Linked DNA regions of Homo sapiens: regions 1 and 2 are each linked to region 3. Evidence: promoter capture Hi-C in 16 types of primary human blood cells and fetal thymus (Javierre and others, 2016). All regions are on one chromosome and are shown on one strand. Each heading gives the region's core, a stretch centred on a gene start or on the middle of the fragment in contact. The rest is flanking DNA. Distances are from core to core; before and after follow the strand shown.

Region 1 (2,700 bases), core at 75-2,574, 1.3 Mb before region 3:
CTTATATGTTAGCTTAGTTGGTTAGTATATTGTATCTGTGAATCATAATACTATTGCTTGGACTTTTTTCCTGATGGATTTAGTAATTATTATTGTATATACAAGTGGCTTTTATAGAATGCTTTTTGTTATGTAAGTTTCTTTACTTTTGGCTGTTTTCAAATCATAGATGGGTTGGACTTCTACCATTAGTTGTGAAGTTGCCGTATAATACTCTTTTATTTTAAAATACCAAAAGTACACCCTTCTCTGATTTAATAATAGTACTATATGTATTAAATGATGATTGCTTTTAGAATATATCTTCCATATTTTGAAGCAGGAAAATTTCTATTTTTAAAGTGGTCATTTCTGTTTCAGTAGGTGTATTCTATCCTTTTATAATTCTTCAGCATGATTAAAATTTTCCTCATCTTATTATTTTTTTAAGGGTCTGAAAAGCCCTCAAGAAAGCCTCAGTGATCTTGGTGCCATAGAGAGTCTCCGGGTCCCTGGAAAGGTATTGAGCTACACGTGTGAGCGTGACTTTTTACTTCCTTAAGAAAATATGATTGCCTCTGGATAGTAATTGATTCACAGAAGCTTTTCTTTCCCACAGGCAGATGGTTGTTAAGATAAGCTAGGTAAATTTTTATTGTATAGTAGGTGTAGGGCTTGTTTCATTACACGTTGGGATGCAGTATGTATGATGCATTATAGCAAAGCAAAAAATGCAAACTTGATAAATTTGGAATTTATTATATTAAATTCTTAGCCTGAAAGCAGTTGTATATATGTGTATGCACACACACACACACACACACACACACACACACTCTCTCTCTCTCTCTCTCTCATTGATTTATCTGCTGTAATTTGTAGAAATAAAGTGAAATAGTTGACTACTGACTTTTTATACTCCTAACATTCTGTGCCAAAAATCATGATTATATTTTTGTTGTGGAGCAGAGGTTTTTGAAAAAGCATCTAAACCATAGTATTTATACTGAATTGTATAACTTATCTCCTAGATTGTAGGTATTTTAGATTTTAATCCTCTGATATTCACGTGAATTTCTCAGTTTACAAATTTTATATAGGTTATTTGAAAGCTAGCTAGATTCCCCTTGGAATTATTAAGTATTGTTAAATCCCTGCTGTTTTTCTGGAGTGTTGCTGCTTGGAGCTGCCCATGTGAATAGCTGCTCCATCACAGATTAAGCTGGCACTTCTGAATGTCTGTTTTTGTATTTTTTAATTTGAGAGTGATACGTGAAAATACTGTTTGTTTTCTGCATCAGGCATTTGAATACACAGGGTGTGCTTCTCTTGATCAGCAGTTTAAGGCCTCTCCTTACACCTCGGTGTCAGCTCCTTAGGAGGATGATTTCTCATCTCTTTCAGGTGCCTTACCTGCTAAAGTGAATTTTGTATTTACTGCATTGTTTTTATTTTGGGTTAGGCTGAAACATATTCTCCAAATGCAATAAAATTATAACCAACCCTTTTGCATGAAATGGTTCAGACAAAAACTTAAGAAAAGCATTCCGTATAGTTTTATGTAATGTTATTAAAAATTAATGACTATGAAAAGGTTGGGAAACAAGAGATAGCCATAAATCCTAATTAATTGACAATAATTCTCTTTATTTCTTTGAGTTAAGAAAAAGATTATCATGCATTATGAACATACCTTGAATTAGATTGTATTACATATTGCAGAATCAATGTCAAATTGATGAGTGAGCCTCTTTAAAAAAATACATTACAGTCTTAACAAGAACTTTCTGTTGTGTTTCCACCATGAGCCATGATGTTTTCCCAGTACTGGTTGGTAGTGAATATGGTGATCTCATTACAAAGTCTTCTTATTAAATGTACACCCCTAGCTCCATCAGTGACCAGTGCTGTCTGTACTTTTAGGATAACTGGCCTTGGGTGGAGTGGCCAGTCTGGGATCACAAGGTCAGCAAATATAAATGGTTCAGGTGAAGAGTAAGCCTAAAGCACTGGTCTCTTTAGCACATACTAAGAAGCTAAGTTAGTTAAATAATAAAACAGTTAATAGTAAAAAATGTATTGATGCTATAAGCTTACATTTAACCTTACACTAAGAAATCCCTACAAGCTTCATCTGCCTGTTTGTTTTTTCTGTGTTCTCCTATAGCATAACAAATGATGGAGGGTGAGCAGAGCTTCTGCCTTCTTTCTGGGTGGTTCTGAGAACATGAGAGTTGCTGGGTCCAGAGAGTGGCAAAGCTCCAGTCAGTAAACTGAGTCTTTGGATGAGGTTTGAAGTCAGTACTGAGATCAGGAGTTAAGAAGACTCATATTCAGAAATTCCCTACACAGCATAGCTTGATGTAGCTTTAATGTTCAGTATTTTTTCACAATTTAGATAAGACTTTATACTTAGATCATAACACATATATTTTAATGATTTATTTTTGTATAATTGCTTTGAAATTAATGTTGTTGCTAGTTCTTGATGACCTGAAATTTGATGTAATTGAAGAAGATCTTTAAGATCTTTTAAAATTAAGATTAAAAGCATTTTAACAAAATGGAAAATGTTAATTCAAATGATTATTTTGAAATAACTTTTGCTTTAAATATAAAATTAATGTATGCTCTAAACAGAAAACATGGTAAACGGAAAAAGGTATCTTAAAAAAAAAATCACAAAAATCACCAACACTGTCAAGGTTAACATTGCCTACT
Region 2 (2,746 bases), core at 196-2,695, 1.0 Mb after region 3:
TTCTTTCTTTTTCTTTCTTTCTTTTCTTTCTTTCTTTTCTTTTCTTTTTTTTCTTTTCTTTTCTTTTTCCTTTCTCTCTCTCTTTTTTTTTTAAGACAGAGTCTCATTCTGTCGCTAGGTTGGAGTGCAGTGATGTGATCTCTGCTCACTGCAACCTCTGCATCCCGTGTTCAAGTGATTCTCTTGCCTCAGCCTCCAGAGTAGCTGGGATTATAGGCATGTGCCACCAAGCCCAGCTAATTTTTGTGTTTTTCATAGAGACGGGGTTTCCCCATGTTGACCAGGATGGTCTCAATCTCTTGACCTTGTGATCCCCCCGACCTTGGCCTCCCAAAGTGCTGGGACTACAGGCGTGAGCCACTGCGCCCAGCTGCAGTTGCTCTTTCTGTAAGGCACTGGTTGTAGAATAAACCCTGGTATTCCCCCTGGACTAAAGGACTCCTTACTTATTATCAAAGATGCTGGCTGCTCCAGAGATGGGCACCATCACCCTTGCTTTTGCTGCTGTTGCTGCCACTCAAAAAAGTAGGCTCACTGTTGCTTGACAAATTCCTTCTCATACAATTGGCTTCTAATAACCCAAAGCCCCATTGGTACCACTCTCCTTCATGCCATGTTATCTCCCTGTTTCACTCCAGTCCTGCCTCCATGAGCCAGGGCCATTCACCTCTACCCCTAGGGCTGGTCCAGGCCTCCTCTTGCCTTTGAGTCCAGAACAGACAGAATTTTGTCCCTGAGTGGAGGAAGAAGTCCTTATCACTTTATCCAAACTTGTATCTTCTAAAAAAATCAGTCTTCCTCAGGGTTAACCTCTTTTTCAGTTGAATGATAATAGCAGCATTAATTTCCTTCAACGAAAACACCTTTCTGACCATAATATATGGTCTGATTTCATGAGCCCAACAGATTAGTGCAAAATAATACAGTAATGGTACATATTCCAAAGTCTGAGTTATTCAGTCTTATCTATGGTTACTTTGCAAAATTTTAATCAATGGTTTTTTGGAATTAAAAAGATAAAAAATAAAATAAATACAGGGTGACTGAGCTCAGTGTCTGCATCTTGGTTATTCTCCAATAGCATGTCTAGAAAGATATCCTTTCTTTAAGGTTGAGTAAGTTAAAAATAAACAAAATGATAAATAAACATGGGTTCAATGAAAAAAATGTGTCTCCCAAAGGATGAGAAGCAATATTCTGTGGAGTTGGCAGATAAGCTTTGATATGAAAAAGATTTGCTTCAGGAGACAGGGGAAATAGTTTGTGATATTTGCTTCCTGTTTTCAATATGGCTTAAAAAATACGAGTAGCTGTTAAAGAAGAAGAAACTTGTCATGAGAGCAGACCAAGTGTCAAAAAGTTTGGTTTAATAAGCATTTATAAAGCCGAGCTGTTTTCCTATTCCTTCACTGGTCTTTGTTCAGTCTTATTTGCTGGATCTGCTACTCTTTTCTGTGTTTAAATATTTGCATGTCCTAGGGCTCAGTCTAAGAGGCCCTTTTCTCCATCTGAACTCAAACCTGTGTGATCCCATCTGCTTCTGTGACTTCAAATGTCATCAAATGGTGTTCACTTTCAGCTTGGTATCTCTAGCTTGAGCCTCTGCTCTGAACTCCAGACTCATCTATCCAACTATATATAATCTGTCTCCACTGGATGTTTAGTTATCCTCTCAAGCTTTCCATGTCCAGAAAGAAAGTGTTTCCTATCCCTGTGTTAATGATCATTTGCATGGTTTGTTCTTGTAGAAATGTCTGTTTATATACTTTATCCATTTTTAAATTGGGTTATTTGGCTTTTTCTATTGAGTTGTAATAGTTCTATTTTTTTTGTTGTTATTGTTGGAGACAGGTTCTCACTCTGTTGCCCAGGCTGAGGTGCAGTGGAGCCATCATAGCTCACTGTAACCTCAAATTCCTGGGCTCAGGCAATCCTCCTGCCTCAGACTCCCCAAATGCTGGGACTACAGACGTTAGCCACCATGCCAGGTCTAGTTTTAATAGTTCTTTATGTATTCTAGACACGAGTCTTTTATCATATATATGATGATAGAATTTGGGGACCTGTCTGTTCACAGATAAAGAGAAAATAGTAGTTTTGATTTCTCCAGGAAGTTATGTATAATAGGAAGTGCAAGGAGCAAATGATGATGCCCAAAGTGAGGCAAAAATTTAGGGAGTGAGAAGAAAGGAAATCACAGAAAAATCATCACAGACTTTGTTTTCAGAGAGGGAGAAGAAAGCACACCCAAGGAAACTGAAAAAAAAAAAGAATTTCAAGAAATGAGTCATCAATACCATTAGATATAGTAGAGAGGTGTGGTAACTGGAAGGTTGAAAAATGTAGATAATCAATTACAGGCCACTAGTGATCTTCGTCTGAGCAGTTCCAGTGGAGTGTGGGGACAGAGGCAAGGTTTGATGGACTGAGGAGTGTATCGGTGGTGAGACAGTGGATGTGGAAAACAGAGACCACCCTTTCAAGGAGTTCAAACAAAAAGCAATAGAAAGAAATTGGAGGTTAGCTAAAAGGGAGAAAAGAGTTGCAAAAGCTTAAGTATGCTTAGAAAATGAGGGCAAAGAGTCCATGGGAATGGAGATGTTGGGTAAATAATAGAGATAAATTACTTGTGGAGCAATGTTCTACTGCTGGGTGTATGATCAATTGCAAAGAGGAAGGTGTTGGTCTTAAATTGGAGGAGAGACCCTACTTCCCCTAAAAGGATAGAGAGAAGGTAAAGATGCTG
Region 3 (2,700 bases), core at 158-2,657:
GATGAAAACATAATAAAGAGTCCTTGGATGAAGAGAATGGGAATGAGTAGACAAGATCTCTACAGTCCCTTCATATCTAATATTCTATAATTTTAAGAGGGGCCTATAAGCACAAGTTCAGGAATGGCTAAATGGGAAAGTTGTAAAGAATACTTGACAACACCCCAACTAAACAATGACTCACTCTAAACAAGGCAAGGCAAGTAGAATGGCAAGCAATGTAAATAACCATTCCCATCTGGAAGGCAACAAGAAAAACCATTTAAAAAAGGTGGGGTGGGAGCGAGAGGAGAGTAGGGATAACAATGCTTTATTAAGGAAATGGAGTGCTGGCTTTATTGAGAATCACAAAACATTAACCAACGTTAGTAGCGGGGATGATTGTCATAAGCACATTAAGAAAAATTTTTTTTGGCTAGGCTTGGTGGCTCATGCCTGTAATCCCAGCACTTTGGGAGGCCGAGATGGGCAGATCATTTGAGGTCAGGAGTTCGAGACCAGCCTGACCAAAATGGTGAAACCCCCGTCTCTATTAAAATACAAAAATTAAACGGGTGTGGTGGCGGGCGCCTGCAATCTCTGCTACTCGGCAGGCTCAGGCAGGACAACCATTTGAACCCAGGAGGGGGAGGCTGCAGTGAGCGAAGATCACGCCACTGCACTAGAGCTTGGGCGACAGGGTGAGACTCCCTCTCAAAAAAAACGAATTTTTTTGGCACATCGACCTAGCCAAACTTGCGTAAATACAAGTGAGAGTCAGACTCTTTTCTCATCAACACCTACACTAAGTTAGGCTCCTTCTGTACCTTCCATTCGGAACTTTGGTGTACTTTCGCCCACCAGAACTGGGCAAACTGAGGACATTAAAAAAACGGTTTAAGAGAAACTGGCCAGAGCGGTGAGTTAAGTGTTAAGACTGGTTTCACTCCTGGGTTGGATGCCAGCAATCCATCGGCCAGCACCATCAACTGGATCCATCAATCCAATCTGGCCAGCACCCAGGGGCAGCCAGACTGACCAGCCAGGCCACGGATAGCCAGACAATAAACGACCTTAGGGTGTCCTTCGCATCCCGCTGGGCGGGTTCTGGCAGTAGAAGGCTGAGAAAGGGGAGTGTTGGGGAAGGAAGGAATGGGACGATGTGTACTTTTCTCCCGGAACTGTAGTTCTATTGCCCCAACCTGGGCTCAGGTAGCGGCCAGTAAACTAGGAGACAGCCCTAAGGCTCGCGTCCGGGCCAGGCGGGTACCCCTAGTACTCTCTCCCCACACCCCCATGGCTCTGCCGCAGCCGCCGCCGCCCGCCGGGGCGCGTGACCCGGTGACCCCGGAGCACTGGGCATCCGGACCCCCCTCGCAGGCGCAGCCGCTATTAAGGCAGGAGGCTAAAGAGGAGGAGGAAGGGGAGGAGACAGGCGTCCAGGGCGCCTGGGGAACCGGCACGGCGGAGCAGCGGCGGCGGGGCTGGGGGGAGGCCGCCGAGTCGGCCGCGGCCGAGGAGGGGCAGGCGGAGGTCGGGGGCGCCGCGGCCGCGGGGTCAGGTTCCCCGGCGGGAGGCGCAGGTGGCGGCCTGGGGAGCTGGCGGCCGCTCCTCGCCTGGCTGCAGCGGCGGCAGCCCCAGTGCTGCCCCTGTGCGGCGCCCCTTTCCCGCTCCGCCGCGCACTGTTGTCATGGAGGAACCAAGATGGCGGCTCTGGCCTACAACCTGGGCAAGCGGGAGATCAACCACTACTTCAGCGTGAGGAGCGCCAAGGTGCTGGCGCTGGTGGCCGTGCTGCTGCTCGCAGCGTGCCACCTCGCCTCCCGCCGCTACCGAGGTGAGCGGGCCCTCCCCTCTGCCCGGGCAGGCCGTGGGGGAGGCGGCGACGCGGCGGCTGGAGGCCGCCCCCATCGCCCAACACACGCCCACGCGGCCTTCCGCCGGCCCGGCCCGCGGGGGAGGCGGTTCCCCCAGGTGTCCCCAGCAGCGGCCGGCGCCCGAGGCCAACTGAGTGGACCCCAGTGGGGGCCACCAAAGGACAATGGCTGGTGGTTCTGGGCGCCCCGAGCCGCCCGCGCTGGGGTCGGGGGCGCCAACCCTGGACCTGGCCAAAAGTGCTGCTGAGGTCCGGCTCCTGAGCGGTCTGGGTTCGGGGAGACGCTCCAGATCAGGGGCTCGCGTGCAGGAAGTCGGACAGGCGGTCCTTGGGGGCAGCCCGGGGCGCATGAAGCCCAAGGCCGCCCTGCAAGGGGCACCGCTGCCAGCAGTGGGGTCGCAGGTCCTGCCTCTTAAGGGTCCGGCTCCTTAGCCTTTGTTTAATTTTGCCTCTGCCCTGTAACACCCAGTCTGGGCTGTTGGACAGCGGCAAGGGCCGCCCCCATTTTCCTTTGCCAAAAGGGCGACAGCTGGCAAAAGATGCCTGTGGCCAAATGGAAGAGGTGCCACCCAGCTTTTGTGATGCAGAAACGTTTAAAGGCTTCGGAGTGCACACTTTTTACAAAGTTAAGGCACCAGAGCAGATTTTTGGAAGGAAGTTGTGGGTTGACAGGCGTAAAGGTGGGCAGTTGAAAGCAAGTTGTAAGCACTTTGAAAGCAGGCCTTGGCCATGGGTTTTGAAATTGGTGTAAAGGGGAAAAGGAAATATGACCTGATTTGAGAATGAATTATCTTTCAGTAATCAAGGGATATTTACTTCTCCTTGCTGATTGATTGTTTTTTTTC

Evidence for each region. Contacts are between HindIII fragments. The CHiCAGO score rates a contact against its expected background, and 5 or more counts as called.
Region 1: a fragment that was not itself captured here is called in contact with the fragment with the promoter of CASD1 in region 3 in 4 of 17 cell types (naive CD8 T cells, naive CD4 T cells, activated CD4 T cells and 1 more); the score reaches 7.6 in naive CD8 T cells.
Region 2: a fragment that was not itself captured here is called in contact with the fragment with the promoter of CASD1 in region 3 in 1 of 17 cell types (M1 macrophages); the score reaches 6.3 in M1 macrophages.

The regions. Positions count from the first base shown.
Region 1 is chr7:93,239,436-93,242,135 of GRCh38, forward strand. VPS50 (VPS50 subunit of EARP/GARPII complex) reads left to right here. Exons shown (of 28, transcript NM_017667.4): 2 at 431-499. Among named protein-coding and RNA genes, the nearest start is that of VPS50, 8.4 kb to the left of the region's middle. The HindIII fragment of the contact is 1,489 bases long and covers 581-2,069 here.
Region 2 is chr7:95,515,343-95,518,088 of GRCh38, forward strand. The region is part of intron 2 of ASB4 (ankyrin repeat and SOCS box containing 4); the gene reads left to right. Among named protein-coding and RNA genes, the nearest start is that of ASB4, 31 kb to the left of the region's middle. The HindIII fragment of the contact is 460 bases long and covers 1,216-1,675 here.
Region 3 is chr7:94,508,402-94,511,101 of GRCh38, forward strand. It overlaps CASD1 (CAS1 domain sialic acid O acetyltransferase 1), which reads left to right and starts at 1,408. Exons shown (of 18, transcript NM_022900.5): 1 at 1,408-1,816. The coding sequence starts at 1,684. RefSeq lists enhancers at 693-1,681, 1,682-2,668 and silencers at 1,202-1,421, 1,462-1,611, 1,712-2,071. The HindIII fragment of the contact is 8,005 bases long and covers 1-2,700 here.